Regions from separate parts of the Homo sapiens genome. Here regions 1, 3, 4 and 5 are each linked to region 2. The links are contacts of gene promoters, found by promoter capture Hi-C in blood cells and fetal thymus (Javierre and others, 2016). All regions are on one chromosome and are shown on one strand. Each heading gives the region's core, a stretch centred on a gene start or on the middle of the fragment in contact. The rest is flanking DNA. Distances are from core to core; before and after follow the strand shown.

Region 1 (2,700 bases), core at 171-2,670, 660 kb after region 2:
CCCAAATGTACTACAATAGATTAGCGTAACCGGGGCTACGCTGTTTACAGGTGTCTCCACCTCCTCCCCCAAGGAGAGAAGAGGTATACTAGGGTAAACAGAAAATAGAAGGAGACTATATACACACCAAATAACAGCTTGTAATCTTCTAAGACTTCTTTTACATTCGGGCTATTCTTTTCATTAACGTATAATACATTTTAAAGAATAACATATTCACAGAGTAATACAATTTCTGCCCTCACGGGTCTCTAGCTGGCTGACACGCGTTTTCTCCTCAAATAAATACATGCCTGTTGACTGATGCCTGTCCTGCTGTTGCAAACAAGAAATAACTGTCCTATAAGACAAAAACCTCTCTCTACGGTTCTAGGCGTAACCATACGTTTGAATTAAAAGCACATTGGAACAACAACAACAATCTTCCAGCACATCTGTCATTTAAAAGCACGATAATGAAAAGCTGTCGCTGCGACCCAATTTTAGGTCACAAGCTTTTTACTGTTTTTCCTGCCCCCCACCTCCAGAAAACAATAAACTTCAAAGGGAATGGTGGTAACCAGGAACAGTTCCCTTCCCCCACCACACACCCCCCCAAAAAGACTAGAAAAAAAACTGGTCAACTTGGACGCTGGCCGCGCTCACGCAGAACCCGTGCCCGCGGGCCGGGGAAGGCTGAACAGACCCTGGGAGGAAAAGTGGGCCTGCAGGCACCCCGGGCTCCCCCCGCCGCCTGTCTCAGATACCGAGCAGGTGGGATTCCGGGAAGCCACCTCCGACTTACGTAACGGGCTTGTCAAAATCCCAGATCCAGGACCTCCCCCTCCCCGCCCCCACTCCCAAATAACAACAGCCCCAGGCCAGCCTGGAATAGAAAATCTGGAATGAAAACACAGGAGCCCCCCACGCGTCCGACGCAGAGGCGCGGGTGCTACTCTCAGCACCGCCGCGCCATCCCGGGGCGGACCGAGCCGCGGAGCACCTCCCGGATCTCAGGAGCTCTCGGGCGGAGATCTCGGCCATCCGTGCCTCCTCCCCGAACCCACCCGCCCCGCTCCCGCGCCCCCGGCTGTCACCTCTCCGGGCCGTGACAGCTCCACCTGCCACCGCTGCCCGGGTCGCCGCCCCCGCACTCACCACCCAGCTGGCTCCCGTGCGAGCAGCGGATCGAGCTCGGAGAGCGGCGCCGGAATCCCGCACGCGCGGTAGCGGAACACGAGGGGCTGAATGCCGCGGCGCTCTGAGCCCGCTTAGCTCATCCCCAGCCCGGCGCTCCGCCCTTCGCGGCACCCCCGCCCGCCCGCCCAGGCCTGCCGTCTCAGTCAGACGGGACTCCCCCTCCCCTCGCGGCCGCCACTGCCTCCGCCTCTTTCTCCGACTCTAGCCTCCGCGGCCACCGCGACCGGCGCCATCTTGGCAATGACGGAAGGGGCGGGGGCGGGAATCACGCCCGCGAGCACCAATCGAAGGCCGGATCTGGCCCGAGTGGGAGGAGAGGGCCGAGTTGAGGGTCGTGGGGTCCTAGCGCCAAACTGATAATGGGGCGGTGAAGGTGGGCGGGACTAAGTCGCCTTAGTCCGTGACGTGCGGTGTAGTTGGGGAAACGCACCGTGGTTCCCCGTCGGGTCAGGAGATCCCGAGCCCCAGGCTGGCGTGGGCGAAGCGTACAATCCCTTCACCTTTCGTCACCCAGAGGCACAAGAATCCAGTTCGCGCCAACTGACCTGTTTCTTCCTTCCTCCCCGGCACTCTGGGAGTCCTGAGATTGCCTTGCTCGGTTCGTCTCAGACTTGCTAGATCTGAGCAGCTGCTGCTCCTCCACCAAGGGTGCTCACATTCTCCAGGAAACTCCCTTAAGGGTTAGCAACCGCCGAGTAGGTTTCGGTCCCAAGATAGAAAGGTAAAGCGGGGAATTCAGGGGGTTTCTCCGAAAAGTACGTTGATGAAACAGCTATTGTTGACTGACGGGGTGTCGATTACTTTGGATTAATTGGATACGGCCTACTTAAACCTGACTGTGGCTCTCCACCATTGATGGCTGTTGACAGATGAGGTTAATAAAGCTTGATTACCCCCATGGGGTTGCTCGGGAGTTAAATTCTATAGTACCTGTGAAGTACTTAGTATAGTGCTTGAAAGTACTCAATAAATGTTAGACATTATTCCATGGACAAATGAAAGAAGAAACAGGACCCCCAAAATCCCTCTGCTTTAAAGTCAACTTTTCCTAAATTGCATAGCCTTTTACTAACCAAGTTTACAACTTTATTTCCTACCTCCAGTTCTTTCATTGTATTCATTCATTCAGTCAACAAACATCCATACAGAGGGTGCACAGTGGTGAGGGAAACAGAAAACCTTTGCCTTCAGGAAACTGCAGTTTAGTGGGAGAAGAGGGACAATAAAAAAGTACTTAAGCACATTTTAAGGGGAAACATGCTATAAAGGTTAGAAAAATAACTGAGGCCAGGCGCCTTTGCTCATGCCTGTAATCCCAACGCTTAGGGAGGCCGAGGCAAGAGGGTCAGCTTGAGCTCAGAAGTTCAAGACTAGCCTGGCAAAATGGCGAGAACCCTGTCTCCACCAAAAATACAAAAAATTAGCCGGGCGTGGTGGCGTGCGCCTGTGGTCCCAGCTACTTGAGAGGCTGAGGTGGGAGGATCGCTTGAGCCCCAGAGCCGGAGGCTGCAGTGAGCCGAG
Region 2 (2,700 bases), core at 103-2,602:
TGGCCAGGCTGGTCTTGAACTCCTGACCTCGTGATCCACCCGCCTCCGCCTCCCAAAGTGCTGGGATTACAGGCGTGGGCCACCGCGCCCGGCCTGTATTTTGTATTCTTAAAACCACCTAGGGCAGTACAAGACACAAGGAACTAGACACTTACTGGTTTTGAGAGTAAGTGGACAATGTTGGAGCAGGATAGGGGAGACCTGTCATTCGTGCAGTGCCACCGTGTAATCCTATACTTTGTGTTTACAGGATTTTACAGTGCACCTGGAACTTTTGTGTACCACACATCATTAACACAAAATTAACATGGTGGTATGAGCTGGGAAGGTTAGCTATCGCTTCATTTTGCGCGTAAAACAGAGGCTTAGCCCTGGGAAATGGAAGTTTAAAGCCTCCTGCTGCTCCAGGTTCCAACCACCACCACTCCTACCCCCATGAGCGGCCGCTGCTCTCACCCGCTTCTTCTCCTCCACCTCCTGCACACACTTCACCCTCCAGCGGTCAATCTCCTGCTCGCGTTCCACTGCCCGCGCGGCCTCTGCCTCCCGCTCGGCCTCGCGTTCCCGGGCCCTCTCGCGAAGCCGCAGCCGGCGGCGCCGGACCCTCTCCAGCCTCCTCCGCGCCTCGCCCACATAGGCAGCCTGGGTCAACGGCTGTAGCCGCTCGGCCAGTTCCGCGCGCAGCGGCGCGGTCTGGGAGTACAGCAGGACCCAGGCCGCGCCGTCGGCTTCGGCCTCGCGCAGGGCCTGGCTCAGGCCGCGCAGCCGCCGCACCAGGCGCAGAGCCCGGAGCAATCGCGCGCGCACTTCGCCAAGGCTGGGCCCGGCATGCGTGCGCTGGGGCACCGGACAGCCTGCCCGCCGCGGGGTCCCGAACACCGCCTCCAGCCACTGCCGGTCGCGCAGGCGTTGGAGGGCCGCATCCCCGAGCACGTCGGCCGGCGGCGGCGGCGCCTCAGGCCACCGCGGGCTCCAGGGCGGCCCCGGGCCGGGAGGCGGTGGCCGCGGCCGCTCGCCGGCGTCGGTCCCCGGGAAGGGCCGACACTGGGGCGGCGGAGGAGGCAGCGGCGGTGGTGGCACCGGGTAGAAGGCGCCAGCGCCGCCTCCGCCGCGGGAGGCCTCCGCGGAGGCTCGGGGCTGCAGAGCCAGCGGAGGCTGAAGGAAGGGGGCGGAGGCCCCCGGAAAAGGGCCGGGCCGCTGGGGGAGAGGCGGCGGGAAAGCCGGGGAGGGCAGCGGCGGTGGCGGACAGCCGAAAGGAGCAGGAGGCGGCGGCTGCGGGGGCGGTGGGCCTGGGCGACCCTGGCCGAAGAATGGTGGCAGGGCCATGTTCACGACGGAGATGCTTTGAGAAGTGACAGGAATCTGAGTGGCTCCTCATGAGAACCTTCCGACGGAAGTGACGTCGTTACGACGCGCGACCCCTGTAGACTCGTCCCTCCGGAAGGCTCAGTGCATAAGTGGGCAGTCGTTCAACCTTCTGTCGTTCAGTTCATAAATACCGTTCTTATTGAGCATCCTAGGTGCAGAGCTACCCACTCCGCATACAGTGAGACTGAGAGATACAGAGCTTCTCTTCGTGGAACTATCTGCCTAGTATAACACACTAATCAATTAATCATGGTGAGTATCTTCGAGAAGTTGGAGAAGGTTATCCTAAGAAACTGCGGCTGCAGCTGAGATCTGGAAGATAAATAGTTAAATAGAAAAAGAGAGGGAAGCACAGTGCAGATGAGAACATGTGCAAAGGCCCTAGTAAATAGGAGTGTGACCAACTACCCATTTTCTTAGAAAAATGAATTATTTTTACTTTTCTCCTTTCACCCCACCTCCTATTTAGCTCTTTAGGAATGCAATTATAGGGTGGGTGCTGTGGCTCACGTCTGTAATCCCAGCACTTTGGGAGGCCGAGGCAGGCGAGATCGGCCTGTAGTCCCAGCCATTGGGGAGGCTGAGGTGGGAGGATCACCTGAGCCCTGGGAGGTAAAGACTGCAATGAGCCACGATAACGCCACTGCACTCCACCCTGGGCGACAGAATGACACCTGTCAAAAAAAAAAATCCAATTAACCTTTACCTTCTCTCCACCAGACACTCTCTACACTGTAAGCTTATCTAATTATGTGTTCGCTTATTAGTTCCAAGGACCGAAGCTTAAACCAGGGACCTCTGGAACTTTCCCATACCAGGGGATTGCCTGGGGACAACTGTCAATTTACAACCTAGCTCCCCGCTACCCCCCACCCCCCCTCCGCCTTCGCCCCAGCCTCCATGGCGCCAACCAGATCACTGATGGATACATAGGAGCAAGTCCCATAGACCCAGCACCTCCTTGGTCCCTCCCCACCCCTTGCATGCCATCCAGGTCAACCAAGTCCCGTGCACCCCCCACTTTTTTTGAGACAGAGTCCCTCTGTCACCCAGGCTGGAGTGCAATGACGCACTCTCCACTCACTGCAACCACTGCATCCCAGGTTCCAGTTATTCTTGGTGCCTCAGCCTCCCTAGTCAGTTGCTGGGATTATAGACCCCTGCTGCCACGCCTGGCTAATTTTTGTGTTTTTAGTAGAGAGGGGGTTTCACAATGCTGGCTAGGCTGGTCGTAAACTCCTTACATCAGGTGATCCGTCCACCTTGGCCTCCCAAAGTGCTGGGGTTACAGGTGTGAGCCACCACACCTGGCCACTTTCTTTCTTTTTTTTT
Region 3 (2,700 bases), core at 149-2,648, 980 kb before region 2:
CTACGTATGAGCTTTGGAAGGCAGGGCCTCGCCTCTCTGCATGTCACGGGGCCTTTGTGGGGGAAGTCAGTGGAGTAGAGGACCTGCCATGGTGCTGCTGATAGCAGCTCTCCGACAGCTGAAGGGTGCAGGGCTGAGAGGTGGGAGCAGAGGTCCTTTCCAGCACATGGCCTGAGAGAGTTCTGGATCAAAATCCTGCCACATATCCAGGAAGAACCTGCCCGGAGGGGTGGACAAGAGCAACCCGGTGCCACCCCCCAAAGTCTCTCTTCCCATCCACTGCCCTGTGCCCACTTATCCTAGTCATCCAGGAGAAGCCCACAGTCAAGCTGCTGCTCAATGCTTCTGTTAAGGGCCTAACATGAATCATCTCACTTTTTTTTTTTTTTAAGACAGAGTCTTGCTGTTGCCCAGTCTGGAGTGCAATGGTTTGATCTCGGCTCACTGCAACCTCCGCCTCTCAGGTTCAAGTGATTCTCCCGCCTCAGCCTCCTGAGTAGCTGGGATTACAGGCATGTGCCACCACACCTGGTTGATTTTTGTATTTTTAGTAGGTACGGGGTTTCACCATGTTGGTCAGGCTGGTCTCGAACTCCTGACCTCAGGTGATCCGCCTACCTCGGCCTCCCAAAGTGCTGGGATTACAGGCGTGAGCCACCGCGCCCGGCCAAATCATCTCACTTTATACACTTGCCTGAAGGAGCCACGTTATCCCTATTTTGCAGATGAGCAAAGGTCTACGGAGCTCCTGAAATCCAGGCAGTCTGACGTCCAAATCGGAGTCTAGGTCCCTAAACTGCCTCTTCCCCACAAACAGCCTGGAGCCCCTTAGGGTTGGAAGATATGAGTGAATGGATGGATGAAAACAATGAATGAATGGGGGGGCCTGTGGATGCTGGGGAAAGGGGCATCAAAGCTGGACTGGGTCCAAGCCTTGCTCAGGTGTGGCCTCAGCCGGGGAATCCAGATCACAATTTCAGGGACCAGGCTGAAAGGAGGGAAAGGCTCGGGAAGGGACTGAGGAACCCAAGACAGGTCCCTGGTTGGCCCCAGGACCGGCGCTGAGGCCCGGGCCCCGCCTCCGTCCGCGCCTGGAGCCACAGGCCGTCCTTGGTAGGCGCTTAACTCAGGTTGGGTGACATTTTCGCTCGCCAGTTCCTGGCATCAGTGAGTGCTCCGTCAATGTTTGACAAACGGTTGACTCCACTGCCCCGCGCTGTGGGCGCACTAGACTTCGGGGGCGGCGTCCAGGTCCCGCCTAATCTTCTAGGCTCAGGACCCGCGGCGCAAGGGAACGCCCGGGGCGGGGTCGCCTGGGGGCGGGGCCTGGGGTGGGGCCTGCGGACCGAGGGGGCGGAGCCGGCCGCCCCGGGGTCCTCAGTCCGCTCCGGGAGAGTTAGGGCTCCGAGCCGAGCGCGCGGAGCAGCTGGGGCCGGGGCGCGGATGCTGGAAGTTCACATCCCGTCGGTGGGGCCCGAGGCCGAGGGGCCCAGGCAGAGCCCGGAGAAAAGCCACATGGTGAGCGCGGCCCCTGGATGGGGAGGGGCGCCGGGACCCGCAGGATTTCCCCGCGCTGCGCTCAGTGGGGACCCGGGGCCCGGGCCTGGGTGAACGAGCGCTGCGGGCTGGACCGTCGGGGGAAACCTTGTCGAGGGTTTGGGGGCCGCTTGGATTTGCCAGCCTCGCGGACCATGGTTCGAGCTCTTGAGGGACCCCAGGGCTCCGAGGGGCAGGTCCGCCAGCCGGTTCTCCCAGGTGTGCGGGAGCGGAGAGTCCCCGGGCAGCCGCGGCGCCGCAAGGCCGCTTTGTGCCTTTGAGAGCGGGAGGGTGGGCACGTCGCCAGGCGCAGGTGCTGCGGCGTCCTCCCGCGGGGCCTCACGCGCAGACCCGCTGCCCGCCCGCGCCGCCAGGTGTTCCGAGTGGAGGTGCTGTGCAGCGGGCGCAGACACACGGTGCCAAGGCGCTACAGCGAGTTCCACGCGCTGCACAAGCGGGTGAGGCGGCGCCGACCTCCCACCGGCCCCGGCCCAGCCTCTGTCCAGCCCCCGCCCAGGCCCTGTGAGGCGGGCGGGCGAGCCCCAGCCTCCGCCACCCCCATTACTGCCTCAGTCCCTGCGCAGCCGGTCAGCCCCCGGGCCTCTGTGGGTGGGTTGGGGCCTTCCTCGCCCTCGGCCGGTCCACCACTCACCAGGGTCTGTCCCAGTAGAGCCCGAAGGCGGGGGCGCGGGAGGGCTTCTGGCTGGGGCGAAGAGGGCTTGAGGGCTCAGTCGGGATGCTGTGATCGCACGCGGTAAACCTCCAGTAGATCAAGAAGCTGTACAAAGTGCCCGACTTCCCCTCGAAACGCCTGCCCAACTGGAGGACCAGAGGGTTGGAACAGCGCCGGCAGGGCTTGGAGGCTTACATCCAGGTATGCGAGAGCACAGTTGGTTGCCCCCCGGCCTTCTGTGCCAGGGGTGTGGCCCAGACAGAGAGGTGTGGGGGCATGGCAGGGAGGGAACCCACAACTTGGGGATGTTATTCACCACCTCAAGCATCAATTTTCTGAGTCTAATATAGGTCCAAACACCCCCCTCTGGCTTGTTGAAAGGACTGAAAGAGGTAACGGACACAGGTAGTCCCAGCTCCATGAAACCCAGGTCCTGTCCCCTCCATGGTGAGGTCCTGTGCTGCCCTCCTGATGGCATGTAGGGTGAGGGT
Region 4 (2,700 bases), core at 156-2,655, 670 kb before region 2:
ACTTTCTCTGGCTGAAACTTGGAGTTCACTGCAGGAATGTTTACCTTCCTTTGTTCCCTATTTTTGCAGTCTAGTTCTCTCCAATGGCAGAGTCATGCTCCTTCAGTGGGAGATGACTACTGGAATGTTTAATCCTTAATTAAATCATGCCTAAGTCTAAAACACTAAACCCTTCTCTGTCTCCACCTGCTAAGTAGCTGAATCCTCACTTGTAACTTTGTCTAGTATACATTGGAAGTTCGCTGTCACCTGGGATCAGTTCTGCCCCTGTACTGTCTAACAACATGACTATTGGTGGACCAAAGAGAGATTATTTTTCCTAGACCAGAAAGGTTTACTTTTATCTTTAGCTATCAACCCCTCCCCCCACCTTTTTATGACCTCACTTTATCTCCAAGTCACATGCTATCTTGAGTGGCACTGTTGAAGGATGCCCCAGGATAAGGGAAAAAAGGTAAGATAAATGCAAAGCAAAATAAAATGGTCAAGGACACAGGAAGGACATAATAGGGGCTAGGATGTGGGAGGCCTTGAGAATTAAGGTAAATTTGTTTGCTATGGAATGAGATGGAAGTCTTAGGAGGTCGTCATGAATAGATGTTTCACAAGTGAAAGCTGGGTGGGAGGGCTCACTTAAACATGGACTGAATGCCTACTGTGCACTAGATAGTATGCTGGGCAATCAGAGATGAATAGCAGATAAGGAAAAATAAAAGCTACAATCCTTAGAATGGTGGGTTGGAGAAGGACAGAATAAGGTTTTTAGATAATAAAAGGCAACAAGATTTAGTGATAGAGGATGGTGAGGGGAAAAGGGATATATAGAGGGATTAGAAATGGGTGCTTTGGGGAGAAAAGCAAGTGGTAATCCTAAAAGAGAAAGCTGGAGAACAAAGGATAAAAAATTAGGAGGTTGGTACTTTGCTGAACTAAGGGGTAAAATGGATGAAACCATCAGGAGCTGTGATTGCTCTTCTGTTCTTTGTGGATGCCCATGTTCAGATCCCCTACGGCCCTTTCCTCTCTGTGGTTGAAGGACAACTACAGAAGAGGTGTCTTCTGTGTTATAAGGTGCAATACTCCCCCCAGAGACCTCTCTATGAGGAAGTCTGATCCAGCGAGAGTTCTACTGCCCACGAGGGGACAGCGTTAGGTTCGAGCTCTCTAATCCAGGTTTCTTTGAGTTTATCTTGGTTCTAACCGGCACGCCGGGTTTTCCAGCATTCCCTGAGCTAAGACTCCCTAATCTGGGCTCCGGGTGAGCGCGCATTCCGAGACCCAGGATTTCGCTCCTTCATCCAGGTTCCGGGTTTCCCCTGCGCTCACCGGCTCCAGACTCCACACAAGCGCGGAATCCGGATCCGAGGGCCTGGCAGTCCAGTGTCCGCGTCTTCCGGGTGACTCTGGTTGTCCCGGATCGCGGCGGCGGCGGCGGTGGCGGCGGCTGAGGGACCCGCGGCCCCGGACACAGCGGCACCGGCCGGGCGGGGCGGAGAGGCGCGGGGAGGGGGCAGAGAGCCAGAGCCGGAGCCGGAGCCGGAGCCGGGGTGGGGTGGGGGGGAGGGGCCGCGGGAACGGATGGCGGCCTGGGCCCCGTAGCAGCGGCGGCTCTACGGCCCGGGGCCCCGGGCGGGCGGAGGTGGCGGCTCCCGGGACCGGCCGCGCGGTGAGTCCGGAGCTTTGTGTGGAGCCGGGACTGGGGGAGGAAAGAGGCGGCGGCACCGATGGGGCGCGGGGCTGAGGGGATCTGATGGGGGCCGGGGGCGGCGGCGCTGCCTGACGGAGGAAGTGGGGGTTGGGGGGGCTGGGGCGGAGCGAGGGGAAGGTGTGTAGGGGGGGTCGTTGCGTGGGTGGGGGAGGGGGCGTCGAGGGGCGCGGGGTGAAGTTCAAAGCGTGGCCACGGCCGGTTCAGGCTGAGGGTAGGGGTGCCCGGGAGGGGATTAGGGTCTGGCTAGGTTATGGGAGCAGGCCAGAGAGTTTCTGAGGCGAGTCTGGGTATGTTGAGGGCGCTCGGGGCGACTGGGGCCAGTCAGGGAGTTGGCGGGGGAGGGGGGGCGGGGGCGGTGGTGGTTGTTCAGAGCATAGGGTCGGAAGCAGGACGTGTGCGTGACCTAGGAGTGGGGAGCAAGGTGGCTGGGATCCTGCAGTAAGTAGGTTGTGGGTGTGTGCCCCTAACAGTCTTCAGGTCACATTTACTCCTGTCCTTTTCTTCAAGATGGAGGGATCCCTGGGCCTGGACCTCAACTGCTATCCTTGTACCCCCGGGAGGGTTTGTGACCCTATCCTGTTTGGAAAACCCATGCTGCCCTCTTTTCCCTTTATGTGTAATTACGGTTGGATCATCTCTGTGCTTTGCTCAGATTCTCCTTCCTCCCTCTGGGGTTGAGGAGGAGGAGACACATCTGACCAATTAATGTGTGTTTGTGAAACAGGCAGCAGCAAACAGTCATTTCAGCTTCGAGGAATTAGGCTCACACAGGGTGGAGAGATCAGAGCCCTTCAGGGGGAATATTTCTGAACAAATCACGGATGATTAAATTCTCTAAGAAACAGCTCCCTACCTAAATGAGAGTGAGAAAGATAGGGAAGAAAGCCTGTCTGTTTCCAGCCATGTGTCCAGAGCCTAAGGGGTTGAGGAGAGTCCCCAAGCCCCTACAGGCCTCCCTTTTCTGTATTAGGCTTTGCTCTGCAGCCTTGAGT
Region 5 (2,700 bases), core at 106-2,605, 740 kb after region 2:
TGATCCACCCACCTTGGCCTCCCAAAGTGCTGGAATTAAGGCCTGAGCCACCGTGCCCAGCCCATTTTCTACTTTTAAGGACCTTATGACAACACTGGGCCCACCCAACTAATCCAGGATAATATCCCTAATTTAATGTCAGCTGATAAGCAACCTTAATTTCATCTGTAACCTCAATTCCCCTTTGCCATGTAACCTAACCTATTCAGTCTCCAGGAATTGGGAAGTGGACATCATTGGCAGGGGGCATTATTCTGCTTGTTATAGGCATACTTGCCCACAAGTCTAAATCGAGAGTTTGCATATAGGAGGTAGGAGGTGTGACAATAATTGGATAAAGGCTTTTCTGGAATGACAAAATTCTCTTCAAATACAGGGAGGCCCTGCGACATGATATCTGGCAAATCACTTGAGTCTTAGTATCCAAACTTCCGCTAAAATGGAAATTACCATCCTTTGCTTGGCATGTTAAATGAAATACTTATGTAAACGGACTTAGATTAGAGGCCTACAAATAGGACTCAAGTTCTTGATGAATCTTGATGAGGAGGGTGGGCGAAGTACTCTAAATGAAAATGAGATAGATTGCGAGATTTCCGGAGAGGAGTGAGTGACAAGCGCCTACCCGTGCATGAAGCTGGAGGTAGAAAATTCCAGCAAAAGGAATTTTCAAGTTTCACTGAAGCTTTTGAATCAAGGCTTGAAAGCCCAGGGTTAAAAAAAAGGCAGTGAAGAAGCTCATTAAGACAACCCCCCGCCAGGTAGCAGATAGCACCTGAAATGCAGTGGGAAATTTGTGAGGTCTTCATAGGCAAGGATTAAATTTTACATCTCCATCTTAAGATGTGTCATAGTTGTTCAATTACTTAGTGACCAAAAAAGTGAATTAAAGATGTTGTCAAGATTAAAAAAACAAAAACCAATGCAGGTTCCACCGAGATTTGAACTCGGATCGCTGGATTCAGAGTCCAGAGTGCTAACCATTACACCATGGAACCGCCACGCATGTGTAGCTGCCTTCGGCTGTCTAATCCTCAGAGAACCCCGCCCCCATCCACAAACCCACCACTCACAGGCGGTCCCGCCTGGTTCCAGCGAGCCGCTTCCGGCACGGTAGCTCGAGAAATGAGCAAGCGGCCACTAAGACTATGGTAGCTAGGAGTTCCAGGACTCAGTTTCCCCTTTGAGCCTCCTTTAGCGACTAAAGCTTGAAGCCCCACGCATCTCGACTCTCGCGCACACCGCCCTTGTTGGGCTCAGGGGCGGGGCGCCGCCCCCGGAAGTACTTCCCCTTAAAGGCTGGGGCCTGCCGGAAATGGCGCAGCGGCAGGGAGGGGCTCTTCACCCAGTCCGGCAGTTGAAGCTCGGCGCTCGGGTTACCCCTGCAGCGACGCCCCCTGGTCCCACAGATACCACTGCTGCTCCCGCCCTTTCGCTCCTCGGCCGCGCAATGGGCACCCGCGACGACGAGTACGACTACCTCTTTAAAGGTGAGGCCATGGGCTCTCGCACTCTACACAGTCCTCGTTCGGGGACCCGGGCCACTCCCGGTGGACCCTCGTGCCGGCCACCCCTGCACTGATATAGGCCTCCCTCAGCCCTTCCTTTTTGTGCGGTTCCGTCTCCTACCCAGCTCAGCCTCTTCTCCCCCGCTCAGACAGGGGTCCCCATCACATGCCGCTCTCTGAGCGACCTCTCCATAGGCCTTCGCTGGCCTCAGAGCCCCTCCCTGCGTGTCCTTCCCCTGGCGGACTGCCTTCTCCCACATCGTCGAATTCCTTTCCCCGGGTTCTACGGCCCCGCCGCTCCTCCCACCATCTCTCTTTTCGGGTGTAGCGCCCCCTCCCCCTCGGCGTACACCCTTCCCAGCTCGCGTCCTCTCCCGAAGCCCCTCTGACGGGTTCTTCGCTTCCCTCTTGGCCTTGCCTTCGGTGCAGACTCCCATTACAGGTCTTTTTCTTATCTGCCCTCTTTCCCCCCTCGAGCGAGCGTCTCTTCTGTATCTCCCCTCCACTTGGACGGCCGCCCCTCTAAGCTTCTCCCATCCCGGGTCCAGGACCCCGTAAAATCTGAGCGGGCCAAGGGCCTCCGCCCCCACCCTCCGCCCCGCGGTTCTCGCGGTCCTTAACCTTCTCTGACCGCTCCCTCTCCCACTCCCCATTTGGCAACTCTCTCTACCTTCCCTCCCCAAATCGTGTTTAGAGCTCCCTTGTCTCCGTTGCGACCTGGGTGGTGGGAGGGAGGGTAAGAGGGATCGCCCATCACCCACTCGCGCACTTGTCGCAGTGACCCGGCAGGCTGACATTACTTCCCACCTAGCCTTTTCTTTTCTTGCCCTCCCTACTCAGTGGCACCCAACCCGGGATAACTCTTTACTCGGTTCGCGAGATGAGGTTGCGGATGGGTGGTGGCTGTTATCCTTGCCAGACCTGAAGGCCTGGTTCCTGAGCAGGAAAGGTTGTGCGCTGCACAAATACTAGCTTGCTTTATCTCTATGAACTGGTTGCTTCCTGCTGCAACGCTGGGAGGATCCAACAGGAAGGGAAGAGCCCTAGTTAGCCACATACCTTTCCCAAAAGGTTGGGGGTGGGAGGAAGTTGTGTGCTCTTTTGGTTACATTAAATATTTATTATAAGATACGGAAACATGTAGTGCCCTTGGACAGAACATATTGGAGGGTCAGGGTTGGTTAGAAAGAAT

Evidence for each region. Contacts are between HindIII fragments. The CHiCAGO score rates a contact against its expected background, and 5 or more counts as called.
Region 1: a contact is called between the fragment with the promoter of DENND4A here and the fragment with the promoter of PDCD7 in region 2, in 1 of 17 cell types (fetal thymus). The highest score is 8.7, in fetal thymus.
Region 3: a contact is called between the fragment with the promoter of SNX22 here and the fragment with the promoter of PDCD7 in region 2, in 10 of 17 cell types (total CD8 T cells, naive CD8 T cells, naive CD4 T cells and 7 more). The highest score is 12.0, in total CD8 T cells.
Region 4: the fragment with the promoter of ZNF609 here is called in contact with the fragment with the promoter of PDCD7 in region 2 in 1 of 17 cell types (neutrophils); the score reaches 5.4 in neutrophils.
Region 5: a contact is called between the fragment with the promoter of RAB11A here and the fragment with the promoter of PDCD7 in region 2, in 2 of 17 cell types (fetal thymus and total B cells). The highest score is 8.2, in fetal thymus.

Annotation. Positions count from the first base shown.
Region 1 is chr15:65,790,873-65,793,572 of GRCh38, forward strand. It overlaps DENND4A (DENN domain containing 4A), which reads right to left and starts at 1,421. Exons shown (of 33, transcript NM_001320835.1): 1 at 1,138-1,421. It overlaps LOC105370866 (a long non-coding RNA gene), which reads left to right and starts at 1,601. Exons shown (of 3, transcript XR_932372.2): 1 at 1,601-1,900. RefSeq lists a silencer at 978-1,307 and enhancers at 1,309-2,274, 1,498-2,117. The HindIII fragment of the contact is 1,569 bases long and covers 493-2,061 here.
Region 2 is chr15:65,132,456-65,135,155 of GRCh38, forward strand. It overlaps PDCD7 (programmed cell death 7), which reads right to left and starts at 1,353. Exons shown (of 5, transcript NM_005707.2): 1 at 457-1,353. The coding sequence starts at 1,326. RefSeq lists silencers at 579-978, 1,039-1,248 and an enhancer at 1,539-1,638. The HindIII fragment of the contact is 3,462 bases long and covers 1-2,105 here.
Region 3 is chr15:64,150,333-64,153,032 of GRCh38, forward strand. It overlaps SNX22 (sorting nexin 22), which reads left to right and starts at 1,399. Exons shown (of 7, transcript NM_024798.3): 1 at 1,399-1,518; 2 at 1,911-1,994; 3 at 2,306-2,410. The coding sequence starts at 1,444. RefSeq lists an enhancer at 58-167 and silencers at 1,085-1,524, 1,725-2,104. The HindIII fragment of the contact is 12,291 bases long and covers 1-2,700 here.
Region 4 is chr15:64,459,173-64,461,872 of GRCh38, forward strand. It overlaps ZNF609 (zinc finger protein 609), which reads left to right and starts at 1,406. Exons shown (of 10, transcript NM_015042.2): 1 at 1,406-1,666. It overlaps LOC105370861 (a long non-coding RNA gene), which reads right to left and starts at 1,415. Exons shown (of 3, transcript XR_932367.3): 1 at 1,327-1,415. RefSeq lists an enhancer at 928-997 and silencers at 1,458-1,577, 1,638-1,737. The HindIII fragment of the contact is 12,937 bases long and covers 1-2,700 here.
Region 5 is chr15:65,868,136-65,870,835 of GRCh38, forward strand. It overlaps RAB11A (RAB11A, member RAS oncogene family), which reads left to right and starts at 1,356. Exons shown (of 5, transcript NM_004663.5): 1 at 1,356-1,490. The coding sequence starts at 1,451. It overlaps TRQ-CTG1-4 (tRNA-Gln (anticodon CTG) 1-4), which reads right to left and starts at 998; the gene lies at 927-998. RefSeq lists an enhancer at 1,170-1,229. The HindIII fragment of the contact is 828 bases long and covers 1,206-2,033 here.